Regions from separate parts of the Homo sapiens genome. Here all the other regions are linked to region 2. The links are contacts of gene promoters, found by promoter capture Hi-C in blood cells and fetal thymus (Javierre and others, 2016). All regions are on one chromosome and are shown on one strand. Each heading gives the region's core, a stretch centred on a gene start or on the middle of the fragment in contact. The rest is flanking DNA. Distances are from core to core; before and after follow the strand shown.

Evidence for each region. The method cuts DNA at HindIII sites, captures the fragments that hold promoters and counts their contacts. A CHiCAGO score of 5 or more calls a contact.
Region 1: a contact is called between a fragment that was not itself captured here and the fragment with the promoter of PRDX1 in region 2, in 1 of 17 cell types (megakaryocytes). The highest score is 5.1, in megakaryocytes.
Region 3: a contact is called between a fragment that was not itself captured here and the fragment with the promoter of PRDX1 in region 2, in 1 of 17 cell types (neutrophils). The highest score is 5.0, in neutrophils.

Annotation. Positions count from the first base shown.
Region 1 is chr1:45,886,729-45,890,994 of GRCh38, forward strand. The region is part of intron 4 of MAST2 (microtubule associated serine/threonine kinase 2); the gene reads left to right. The region is part of intron 2 of LOC105378694 (a long non-coding RNA gene); the gene reads right to left. Among named protein-coding and RNA genes, the nearest start is that of MAST2, 85 kb to the left of the region's middle. The HindIII fragment of the contact is 1,906 bases long and covers 500-2,405 here.
Region 2 is chr1:45,520,618-45,525,167 of GRCh38, forward strand. PRDX1 (peroxiredoxin 1) reads right to left here and starts at 1,267. Exons shown (of 6, transcript NM_181697.3): 1 at 1,212-1,267. RefSeq lists a silencer at 461-623 and an enhancer at 1,666-1,745. The HindIII fragment of the contact is 8,348 bases long and covers 868-4,550 here.
Region 3 is chr1:45,034,061-45,038,600 of GRCh38, forward strand. ZSWIM5 (zinc finger SWIM-type containing 5) reads right to left here. Exons shown (of 14, transcript NM_020883.2): 9 at 1,979-2,239; 10 at 1,628-1,763; 11 at 252-409. Among named protein-coding and RNA genes, the nearest start is that of UROD, 24 kb to the left of the region's middle. The HindIII fragment of the contact is 4,650 bases long and covers 475-4,540 here.

The sequences.
Region 1 (4,266 bases), core at 203-2,702, 370 kb after region 2:
ATTGAAGCAGCTCTGAATGGCTTTTCTTGCCCAATGCTATAGTGGGGGCCTCTTTTTGATGATTCCTTTCAAATAGGATTGTTTCTTTTGCTGTTGTTGTTATTTTGTTTGTTTTTGTGACAGGGTCTCATTCTTTAGCCTAGGCTGGAGTGCAGTGGCGCAGTCTCAGCTCACTGCAGCCTGGTCCTCCCTGGCCTCAGGAGATCTTCCCATCACAGCCTCCTGAGTAGCTGGCACCACAGGCACCTGCCACCACATCTGGCTAATTTTTGTATTTTTTGTAGAGATGGGGTTTCACTATGTTACTCAGGCTGGTCTGGAACTCCTGAGCTCAAGCTATCTGCCTACCTTGGCTTCCCAAAGTGCTTAGATTACAGGCATGAACCACAATGCCTGGCGACTGTTTATTTTGTTTGTGAATTTCAGCACCAGTACCTAGACCCTGCATTTGGGAGCTTAATGTAAATAATGCTTATGTCTCCAGTTACCCTGAAAGTAAAGCTTTTCTAATACCCATTAGGCTTAAGATAATTTTCCTCATATTTCATGAAATGTCTTGCTTTATTTCTTAGAGGCTATGAGCAGTCAATTGAGATAACAGACTGTAGGAGTGGAGAGGTAGCTGTTGGTTGCATTCATCATGGGGTATGTGTATATGTGTGTGTTGATATTATTGGCATTGCTGGCTTGTAGTCTTTAGAGCCCTTGGGGATAGTTAACCTTTTATTTTGTCAGCTTATTCATTTGGGCAGTGGACTTAGATACCAGATATTGGATGAAAGTTAATGTCTGGTGTCTGCAGTGATAGGCACTGCATAGTGGGCAGGGAGGAGTTCCTGGGCCCCAGGGATGTGATGTGTCAAACTTTGTTCCTATGAAACTGACAGTGTCATGTACTTTCCCATTCTGATGCAACTTGATGCCTGGATCAATGCTTCTGGAAAATGTGCTAAAAAGAGATACCACCTGCTGCATACACATAATAAACCCTTTGTTGAGGTATCAGTGGCGTCTGATATAGGGCTTTAGGTTTTCTGTGGGGCTTTGAAAATCAGGAAATTTTGCAATCTTTCAAGACTCTAAAGCCCAGAGTGATAGCTTTGTGTTACATTTAAGACCCTGTCTTTTAAAAGTTGGTGGGAAGTAATTTCATATAGATTCTCTAAGTGTCCAATGGGAAGGCAGGACGTAGCAGAGGTTGGGAGGGAAGTAGCCATAGTCATCACTCATATCCCTACAGGGAACCAGTTTGTTGTTAAAAAATGGATGTAGTTGTTGGCGAGCTTTACCTGTGTAGGTGGGATCTGAAAATCCTTGAGAACCTGTTTTTGTTACTGTATGTTGAGAATAGTTGTCATGCTCATTATCCCCACATTTATATCGCTAGATCTCATAACTGTCCATTCACCATAATGTGACTGAATATTTCAGAGACATCTGAACTGCAGCATTTATGAATCTGAGTCATTGTCTTTCTCAAAAATCAGGTCCTCTCTTATACTCTAGCTTATTAAATGGTACTGCTTCCTCAAGATAGAAAATTTAGTTATTTTTGTTGCCATGCTCTTCCTTACACTCACAAGTCTTTTCTGTTATACCTCTCAAATATCTCTTGGTGTTCTGTCTTTATTTTTATTTTATTTTATTTTTTTGAGACTGAGTCTCGCTCTGTGGTCCAAGCTGGAGTACAGTGGCGCCATCTGGGCTCACTGCAAGCTCCGCCTCCCGGGTTCACACCATTCTCCCACCTCAGCCTCCTGAGTAGCTGGGACTACAGGCCCCCACCACCACGCCCGGCTAATTTTTTGTGTTTTTAGTAGAGACCGGGTATCACTCTGTTAGCCAGTATGGTCTCGATCTGCTGAACTTGTGATCCACCCACCTCGGCCTCCCAAAGTGCTGGGATTACAGGCGTGAGCCACCGCGCGCGGCCTCTTTTTTTTTTTTTTTTTTTTTTTTTTTTTTTTTTTTGAGATGGAGTCTTGCTCTCTCGCCCAGGCTGGAGTGCAATGGCACAATCTCGCCTCACTGCAACCTCCGCCTCCCAGGTTCAAGTGATTCTTCCGCCTCAGCCTCCCCAGTAGCTGGTACTACAGATGTGTGCACCACGCCTGGCTAATTTTTTGTATTTTTAGTAGAGACGGGGTTTCACCACGTTAGCCAGGATGGTCTCAATCTGACCTCATCATCCATCCGCCTCGGCCTCCCAAGTGCTGGGATTACAGGCCTGAGCCACTGTGCCCGGCTGGTGTTCTCTCTTTCTTTATACTACCACTGGTTTGTCCAGATAGTCACAGCCATTGTAATCTCTTGCCTCTGCTACTGCCATAACCTCCTAACTGGCCTTTCTTTATCTGGCATTGCTCACCCTCAGTCTACCTAACTATCATACAATAGCCAGGAAAAGCTTTTTAAAATGCGGATTTCATTATTAGATATTAATTTAAACTTTTTTGGTGAAATTTTTTTTTTTTTGAAACAGAATCTCACTTTGTCACCCAGGTTGGAGTACAGTGGTGCGATCACGGCTCAGTGCAGCCCCAGCCTTCCTGGGCTCAGGTGGTACTCGCACCTCAGTCTCCCAAGTAGCTGGGACCACAGGTGCACGCCGCCACACCCAGCTAATTTTTGTACTTCTTGTAGAGGTGGGGTTTTGCCATGTTGCCCTGGCTGGTCTCAAACTCCTGGGCTAAAACTACCTGCCTTCCTCGGCCTTCCGAGGTGCTGAGATTACAGGTGTGAGCCTCTGCACCTGGCCTTTGGTGAATTTTTTCTTACTCTTAGGATCACACCTGACTATCTATACAGTGTGGTTGCTATATTTTTCTCCATGTTTTACACAATGTGTTCTCTGTGCCTGGAATTTTTGTTTTGTTTCGTTTTGTTTTGTTTTTTTGAGGCAGAATCTCACTCTGTTGCCAGGCTGGAGTACAGTGACGCAATCTTGGCTCACTGCAACCTCCACCTCCTGGGTTCAAGCAATTCTCTTGTCTCAGCCTCCTGAGTAGCTGGGACTACAGGTGCACGCCATGACACCCAGCTAATTTTTTTTTTTTATTTTTAGTAGAGCCAGGGTTTCACCACATTGGTCAGGCTGGTCTCGAACTCCCAACCTCAGGTGATTAAGCAATTCTCCTGCCTCAGCCTCCCAAGTAGCTGGGACTACAGGTGCGCTCCACCACGCTGAGCTAATTTTTATATTTTTAGGGTTTCACCATGTTGGCCATGATGGTCTCAATCTTTTGACCTCGTGATCCGCCTGCCTCGGCCTCCCAAAAGTGCTGGGATTACAGGCATGAGCCCCCGTGCCCAGCTGGAATGTTCTTTTTCCATCTATACCAATCTAGTTCCTACACACCTTTCAAGTCCCAGCTTACACCTCACTTCCTTATGAAAGGCGTTCCTGACCTCACCCAAACCTTGCTGTCTGTAGACTAAGTTGGGTTTCCCAGAACATACTTTCAATAAAGCCTCTACTTTTTCTTCATAGCTCTTACATCAGTTGTAAATAAAGAACTATTTGTCTGCCTTTTCCCGTTGTGTAGTATGTAAGTATTAGCTCAGGCTGCTGTAACAAAATACCACATGCTTAAATAACAAAAATTTATTTTCTTACAGTTATGCAAACTAGTAGTCCAAGAAGGTGACAACATGCTAAGTTTCTGGTAAACCTCTCTTCCTGGCTTGCAGAGAGTGGCCTTCTTGCTGTGTGCTCACATGGCCTTTATGTGGTACACCAGCCTGAGGATAGGGGCATAGATCTGTCTCTTCTTCTTTTTCTTCTTCCTTCTCCCTCCTTCCTTATTTTTTCCTTCATTTTCAAGCCCAACAGTCCTATAGGATTAGAGCCACCCCTATGACCTCATTTAACCTTAATTACTTCCTAAAGAACCTATATGGAAATATAGTCAGATTGGGGGTAAAAGCTTTAACATGAATTTTGGGGAGACACAGTTTAGTCCATAGCAGATGGTAAGCTCCGTGAGGTCAGGACCATGTTGTGCGGTACAATATGCTGATCCCAGAGCCTACTATAGAGTTTAACACAAATTGGCAATCATTTGAACTTGTTCCAAACATTGGTATGGTCTGGCACAAGAATACAAATAGAGGTATACACGTTTAATCATTTAAAATAGAGCTACCAAATTGTAAAATAAAATAAATGCTTTGTCCTCCTACCTCTAGAAATATAGTTGCATAATAACAAATTTTGAAATATGTGTAAAGCTATTGATTTTTAAAAAATAAGCACATGTTAAATAT
Region 2 (4,550 bases), core at 17-2,516:
GGAGGCTGAGGCAGGAGAATGGCGTGAACCCGGGAGGCGGAGGCTGCAGTGAGCCGAGATCCAGCCACTGCACTCCAGCCTGGGCGACAGAGCGAGACTCCGTCTCAAAAAAAAAAAAAAAAAAAAAATACAAAAATTAGCCGGGGCTTGGTGGCACAAGCCTGTAATCCCAGCTACTCCTAAGGCTGAGGCAGAAGAATTGCTTGAATTCGGGAGACAGGGGTTGCAGTAAGCCGAGACCGCGCCACTGCACTCCAGCCTGGCCGACAGAGCGAGACTCTAGCTCAAAAAACAGAGATTTAACCCACTAAGCCGCGGTCTGAAAGCTTTTCCAAGTCCCAAAGTTCTTAGTTCACAATACCACAAGCAAAAGAAATTTTGTAAGCATGGATCTTAGCAAACTTTTAACTGTTTTTTAAAAAGTCCTTAACACCTTTAACGACAAAAAACAAAAACCAAAAACTAAGGCATGCTGCAACTTGGTGCCCCCAAATGGCCTTCTCGTCCAATCCTTCTTTCCCAAGTGGCCCCCAAGTACAAAACCCAACCAATTCGGGGTAAAGGCTGCTGGGATTCAGGCCGCCACCGGGCCCCTTCAGGGGATCTGCCCAGCGTAGAGGGCCACATCCCTAAACCCCACTTCAGGTGCCCCCTGTCCCTCCCCAGCACTGGAGAAAGCACCAGCAGAGAGAGTGCTTCAGCGGGGACATTTGGGCTCATCGCTAACTCCATTCCACGTACAGGAAAATAAAGACGGGGAAAGGGTACCCGAAGCTCCGCAGCTAGTCAAGGCTCAGGACCCGGAACAGCCAAATACATAGAGGCTGTCTTCTACAGCCACGAGTCTGGATACAGGTCCATTCCAGAAGCTTCCCGAACCCACCCCGTCCGGCAGGAGGCTAGTCTCGGAGACCCCCACCACCAGCCCGCCCAGACGCCGCGCCACGTGCTCGAGTTGCCGGGGGAAGACTCGACTCGAGTCCACGCTTGCCTTGGGGTTCAACCAGGTTCCCGCACCTACGTGGGGGGCCCACGAGAGGGGTGTGCGCAGCGCTCAAGCAGTCTCGGACTCCGGGCCTCCCCCGGCTGCCTCACGCATCACAGCACCCCCACCCGAGCGCGGGCGGGCCCCGGACAGGAGGAGGAAGAGGCAACAGGCAAGAAGGGCGCGCCGCGCCTCACTCCGCAGGGGCCGCACTGCCCACACTCACCAGTCCCAACACAAGTCGCAGAAACTAACCACCGACACCAGGCAAGAACAAGACGCGCAAGAGCTCTCCGGGGCGCTGCCTTTATAGCCAGTAGGGATCTCGCGAGAGTCGGAACGGACGGGGGTGCCGGAGGAGGAGAGAGAGGAGGGGGATGTGGCCCGAGCCCCGCCCGGCGCGCCCCGCCGGAATGACTCGGCGCTTTCCCTCGTTGGGGCGGGTGCGGAAAAATACTAATACCCCACCCTGTTGCGGATGGCTGAGGTTGGAGTGAGGCGCCCTTGTGGCCGCTCCCGAACCCGAACGCTTAGGTTAATCCTAGATCTCTGCGGAAAACCAGGATTCTCTTTACTTCCAGGACCACTACGCACTGTGCCCTCAATGCCCAAACTGGAGTAAGCGTCTTAGCTGCTGCCCACGGAGGACCACGTCTAACCACACCAAGCCATGAGAACTGTCTATCCAAATATTTCTTAAGTTCGCAGCCTTAACCCCAGCGCAGATCCTCAGTAACCCTCATGGCTTAGATAGCTTCCTTCATTGTTCTCTTTAATTACAGGGTTGCTGCTTTCTGTTGTAAAGGAAAATAAAATATCAGGACTCCTAAACTTACGCCAGAGGGAAAGTTCATCTTGGGAGGCTGATTCAGTTACACGACCATCCTCTCCCCGGATGAATAATTTGACTTTACAATCTTGAGTCAAAACATTACACATTAGCCAGACCCACACGGTAAGGCAAAAGGCCTCAGACATTTCCTGATGACTACCCCCCACAAACACACATACACAAAATCATAATTAATTATTTGCTCCCCTGGAAACCTTTAAAGTATGTAGCCTCCCATAAAACAAGGACGTGTCAATTGCAACTAGATCTACAATATAAAGTCTAGTTCCTAAAACTAAAGTTTGTTCTATTCCACATTTTTTTGAGACGGAGTCTCACTCACCCTGTCGCCCAGGCTGTAGTGCAGTGGCACGGTGTTGGCTTACTGCAACCTCCACCTCCCGGGCTCAAGCGATTCTCCCGCCTCACCTCCGGAGTGTCTGGGACTACAAGCACGCACCACCACGCCCAGCTAATTTTTTGTATTTTTAGTAGAGACGAGGTTTCATCATGTTGGCTAGGCTGGTCTCCAACGCCTGACCTCAGGTGATCCGCCCGCCTTGGCCTCCCAAAGTGCTAGGAATGTAAGCGCGAGCCACCGCACCTGGCCTCTATTCCACAAATTCCATAAATGTTCACTACTAGATTACCTTTCTACTAGACTACTTTCTACCTTTCTAGTAGTACCTTACTACTAGATTACCCTGAGTCCACCACATAATTGTTTTCTTCCTCCATTCCCTTTTTCTTCAAACATTCACCTTATCTTATGTAAAAATGTAGATTTAGGCCACCTAGGAGGGCGGATCATAAGGTCAGGAGATCGAGACCATCCTGGCCAACATGGTGAAACCCTGTCTCTGCTAAAATACAAAAACTTAGCCGAGTGTGGTGGCGCGCCTGTAGTCCTAGCTACTTGGGAGGCTGAGGCAGGGGAATCGCTTGAACCCGGAGGCAGAGGTTGCAGTGAGCCGAGAGCACCACTGCACTCCAGCCTGGCAACAGAGCAAGACTCCGTCTCAAAAAACAAAACGTAGATTTCCTGAGCATTAGCTAAAGTCTTTGCCTCAATCTTTCCCACCCCCACTTTTCAAGGAAAATGTATAAATACTAAAAACCTCCTGAGAACCTCTTGGGAAGAAACAGCCACAAAAGTGTCTGTGACATGGTTTAGTCAGTTTAGTCACTCATTTCAATTAACACTATCTCTTATCCATCCCTTCCACTGCAGCTGAAGGAAATCTTTCTGAAGTCTGATCATGTCACTGTTATTCGTGGTTTAAAAGCTGGGGAAGAAACAGCCACAAAAGTGTCTGTGACATGGTTTAGTCAGTTTAGTCACTCATTTCAATTAACACTATCTCTTATCCATCCCTTCCACTGCAGCTGAAGGAAATCTTTCTGAAGTCTGATCATGTCACTGTTATTCGTGGTTTAAAAGCTGGGGCTAAAGAAAGAAAGAAAGTAAAATTTAAAAAGAAAAGAAAAATAAAAAATAAAATAAAAGCTGAGGCTCTGTAGTCAATTTACTGAGTTAAAACTCCTCACTGTCAGGGCCGGGCGCGGTGGTTCATGTCTGTAATCCCAGCACTTTGGGAGGCTGAGGAGGGCAGATCACCTGAGGTCAGGAGTTCGAGACCAGCCTAACGTGGAGAAACCCCATCTCTACTAAAAATACAAAATTAGCCACGTGTGGTGGCGCATGTCTGTAATCCCAGCTACTCTGGAGGCTGAGGCAGGTGAATCGCTTGAATCAGGGAGGCAGAGGTTGCAGTGAGCTGAGATAGCGCCATTGCACTCCAGCCTGGGCAACAAGAGCGAAACTCTGTCTCAAAAAAAAACACACACACACAAACACAAAAACTCCTCACTGTAATTTTAGGTGTGAACTTGGGCAAGTCTTAAACTCATTAAACCTTACTTTTCTCAACTGTAAAATGGGAATAATATTAATACTTTATTGTGATTATCTATGTAGTTCAGTACAGTACTTAGTTCTTATTATAAATTAGAAATGTTAGCTGCTATTAGTATAACTCTTCCATCCTTCACACTTATAACACCCAGAACACAGTGTAGTTGTTTCAAGCCTTCAGACTTTTTTTTTTAAGATGGAATTTCGCTTTTCTTGCCCAGGCAGGAGTGCAATGGCACGACTTCTGCTCACTGCACCCTCCACCTCCAGCGTTCAAGCAATTCTCCTGCCTCAGCCTCCCAAGTAGCTGGGATTACAGGCGCCCACCACCACGCCCGGCTAATTTTTTGTATTTTTAGTAGAGACGGGGTTTCAGTATGTCAGCCAGGCTGGTCTCAAACTCCTGACCTCAGTTGATCTACCTGCCTCAGCCTCCCAAAGTGCTGGGATTACAGGAGTGAGCCACTGAGCCCGGCCGCCTTCAGACTTTTGTTTGAACCTGGAAAACTCTTTCCCTGGAGAAAACATGTCTTTCAGCATTACTTTCTCTCCGGCTGTTTCTTACCTTTACTCATTCCCAGGATTTACAATTCCCCTCCTTTGTGTCCAAACAATAGCTTGTATAGCCAAAAAAATCTTTTAAGCAATTTTAGTTTTACATTTCTTCCTCTGCCTGCTAGAGTGACTTTCTGGAGAGTAGGATGTGGGTGACATCTGTCTCTGTGTCCCCAAAGTCACAACAAAGCATCTGATATAAAATAGGAGCTCAGTCAGTGAGCATTCAATCAATAGTATCATGTTTCTGTCTCTGTCCCCAG
Region 3 (4,540 bases), core at 1,550-4,049, 490 kb before region 2:
GCCAGGATGGTCTCGATCTCTTGACCTCGTGATCTCCCGCCTCGGCCTCCCAAAGTGCTGGGATTACAGGCGTAAGCCACCGCGCCTGGCCAGGTGCTCTTTCTAATGGCAGCAATCAAAGTGAGGACCACTATCACTCTAAATGGTCAAGGAGCTTCTCTTTCTCAGGAGACTGCAGGCCAAGCCTTTGACATGCCATGGTTGGGCAGGCAGACGGGTGATGCTGGAGCTTAAGGTCTATCTATGCTCACCTTTGGCAGCAGTCAGCATGGTGGAGGCCAGTTCACACTGCTGTGATTCCAAGTGTCCAAGCGTGAACCAGCGAGGATAACGGCTGGGCACCACAGACACCATATGGTGAGGGTGGGATGTGTCGCCTGCAGAAGCTGAGTTTTCTAAAACAGGTAACCTGGAAGACCCAGGAAGAATCATCAGCCACCATCCAGACCCTGGGCTTCCGAGCCACCTTAGAGAAGCTTGCTCTTTGCTGGGGAGGAACTGGGGAGAGGAAAGGATTAACTAAGAGCTTTGAAGGTTTTTAAACCTATGGTACTATACACTATATGAGGTGAGTGCCTGGGCACTTAAGAGTACTCAACGCTGAATAGTTTCCACTACAAATGGATGTGAAAGGCCGTTCAAGAGCTATCGGGTTGAATAGTATGATATATTGTAAAAAGAGAGAAAAGTTAATACATTTTTAAAAAGAATCATAGGGTTGTTTATTTTATTTATTTTTGAGACAGTGTCTCTCTCTGTTGCATAGGCTGGAGTGTAGTGGCATAATCACAGCTCACTGCAGCCCCGACCTCCCAGGCTCAAGCGATCCTCCCACCTCAGTCTCTTGAGTAGCTGGGACTTCAGGTGTGCACCAACATGCCTGGCTAATTTTTGTATTTTTTGTTTTTGTAGAGATGGGGTTTCACCATGCTGCCCAGGCTGGTCTCAAACTCCTGGGCTCAAGCAATCTACCTGCCTCGGCCTCCCAAAGTGCTAGGATTATAGGCTTGAGCCACCGTACCCAGCCTGGTTATTTCTAAAAGTATAAGAAATACATGCCAAGGAATTTCCTGTTTTAGCTAAGGTATTCTCCCAGCCTTACAGTCTGACTAAAATTCTTCTTCTGTATAGTCTGCTACATCCCAGAGGTTTAACTGCCTAAACCAAGGATCCTATTCTAGCCTGGAAACAAGATGCCCATAGCTCATTGTTCTCAAGTCTTGGGGTAAACATATTTATCTCTACTTCCCCCAGCTTCTTCTGGGGACCTGTGCCTGGGAACCTTGACTGAGTTGAACTACAGAAGGGCTCAGACCCCTTCTCAGCTTGCCTGAATAACCACTGAACAGGAAGACTCAGGTCTTAAGTGCTCCTTATTTATTAACATCTCAGGGGCTTCCTCAGACAATCAACCATGAGTACTGCCAGGGAACCAAGTCACCAACAAGGAATCCAGATATGAATCCTAGATCATATAAAAATATCTGAGCCATTTTAAGGTACACTTGGTAGCGGGTCCAACAGAATGACAAAGAGGGAAAGAAAAGAAAGTGAAATAAGCAATGAAAAAGAGCACTGGACACTTCTGCTTTGGTGGAGGCAATTGGACTGGGAAAGGGCTACCCACCTCATGGCACGTAAGGCTAATTTATAGGACAGGTCTGGATCATGAGGCAGCAGAGCTGAGAACAAATACTTGGCAAAGGTATGCATGGGAACACTCTCTCGGTGGATGACTTCTCCCAGACCGCTGAAAGGACCTCCTGGAGGAAGATAAGCCAGCCAGTTATTTATCTGTATGCTTCCATCTGCCAGCCTGGACTTGAGCCCCAGTATCTCATGCATGTTTGCTAATCATGGGAACCTTCATTCACTACATTTTAATGTCATAAATGTTCCTGTACTTGTACTCTATTGGAGAGGGGAGCTCAGGGTCATGGGCCAAAGACACCGTGACAAGAGACTCTTTTCTACTTACCTTCCAGCAGTAAGATGCATTGTTTTTGCAGTGTTTGCACTAGCTCATCGTCCAGCTGCAGCTCTTGGAGTTGGCTCAGGAGCTGCTCCTCATTACGGCATACCTTGTCCTGTGCGTAGAGGCCTTCAGGCATTAACCTCTGTTGACCCAGGCCCATCAGTGCAACTTCCAGGGCCAATGACAGGTAGGACTCACTGCTGTTTGGGGAGCCTGCAGCCACAGGTACATGCTGGTACACAGGGGGTCTGCTTTCATTCATATCTGAGGGCAACAGGGCACCAAATTCTTTAGGTTAGGCTTGGTAGAGTCTTCTTTCTTTTTTTTTTTTTTTTTTGAGACAGAGTCTTGCTCTGTTGTCCAGGCTGGAGTACAGTGGTGCAATCTCAGCTCACTGCAGCCTCCGCCTCCCCGGTTCAAGCGATTTTCCTGCCTCAGCCTCCCAAGTAGCTGGGATTACAGGAGCATGCCACAACACCTGTCGAATTTTTGTATTTTTAGTAGAGGGGCGGTTTCATCATGTTGGCCAGGCTGGACTCAAACTCCTGACCTCAGGTGATCTGCCTACCTCGGCCTCCGAATGTGCTGGGATTACAGGTGTGAGCCACCGTATTCGGCCTAGTCTTCTGTCTTTCCCTCCCACCTTTGGGATACAGCTTGGTCAACAGCTATCATAGGGAAGCTGAATCAGAACCCCAGAATAGTAAGGAAAATATACTGAAAAAAAGGTTACACAGAGCCACAAAGATTCACACTTCTTTCTTTTTTAATTTTTTTGGAGACAGAGTCTTGCTTGGTTGCTAAGGCGGGAGTGTAGTGGTGCAATCATGGGTCACTGATGCAGCCTCAACCTCTTGGGCTCAAGCGACCCTCCCACTTCAGCTTCCTGAGTAGCTGGGACTACAGGCACATGCCACCATGCCCAGATAATTTTTAATTTTTTTTTGTAGAGATAGGGTCTCATTATGTTGCCCAGGCTGGTCTCAAACTCCTGGGCTCAAGTGATTTTCCCACCTTGGCCTCCCAAAATGCTGGGATTATAGGCATAAGCCACCATGCCCAGCCCCACCTCCTTTTTTTTTTTTTTTTTTTTGAGAGGGAGTCTCGCTCCATCTCCCAGGCTGGAGAGCAGTGGCACGGTATCGGCTTACTGCAACCTCCGCCTCCTGGGTTCAAGCAATTCATCTGCCTCAGCCTCCTGAGTAGCTGGGATTACAGGCACACACCACCACACCCAGCTAATTTTTATATTTTTAGTAGAGATGGGGTTTCACCATGTTGGCCAGGCTGGTCTCCAACTCCTGACCTCAGGTGATCTGCCTGCCTTGGCCTCCCAAAGTGCTGGGATTACAGGCGAGAGCCACTGCGCCCGGCCCATCTCCTTCTTAATATATGAACTGGCTAAGCCAGTTAGGGAAGTATAAAATCTTATATTTTGCTAGCACATTATGTAATGCTGTAATTGTCTGTTTTTGTTTCTGTCTCTTTCATAGAATGTGAACACCTTAAAGGGATTAGACCATCTTGTTGTTCTAGGTATTGCTATGTGTTAGTGGTGAATGAATAAACCCAAGTGCAAACTCAGGTTTCCAAGATGTAAATGTCACTGTACAGATGAAACAGACCAAAGATGATGATTCACTTTGCAAGGGATCAGAGGGAAGATAAGGAGCAGCCTGCACTTGGCTTGGGGCCACCCCTTATATCTCTACCCAGAGAAATCTGAATCCCTACAGTTAAACTCTTAACTTTTGTAACATTTGCAACCTTTATGTTACTATTATCTCATATGCTCCACCAGTGGGTGCACAATTTCAGGAAGTAAGCACGGTTTAAAAGTCAAAGTCTTGGTTTCTTTTCTTTTCTCCCTCATCTATCTAATAAGTATTTATGAAAGATTGTTAAATGTCAGGTCCTCCACTAAGTGCTAGGAACACAAAGATAAAGAAGTCATAATTTCTGTTTTCAAGTAGCTGACAGTCTAGTAAGAGAGAACTATTTGTAAATAAATTGTAATGTAGCATGCTAAATACTAAAGTAGATATATGTATACAGTAAGTGAAGGTATAAAAGAAAAAAGAATCAATTTTGTCTCTATCTATTCTTGGCTACTCTAATAGAGTCTTGAGGCTCTATTAAATTATTCTCCTCTATTTCTTATTTGTAAAATTGGTACAAAACCATCATGTGGAAGAAAGTTCAAAGGAAACCAGAAAATATTATTATGCAATTGCAAGGGATACACAGATTCTTAATGGAAGTTCTTTCCCACTTTCAGACTGCTCTAGGTTCTCGCCTCTGACTGCTAAAATTTCTCTATCACTTGTTATTCTTCTTGGACTACATTCTTTAGGCATTTATGATAGGGAAATAAAAGGAACAAGGAAGGCTGGCAAGGTAAAATGCAAAATCAGGACAAGGCCAGACCAAAGGGTAGGAAAGGAAGGTGGGAAATGGGCAAGCATGAAGAAACCTCTCAGGGTGCTCTAGTTTGGACAAGAGGGGGAAAAAACTTCAAAAGGAGGTAGAACAGAGTCTGGAAGGGAGAAAAGGGCTGACGAGGGC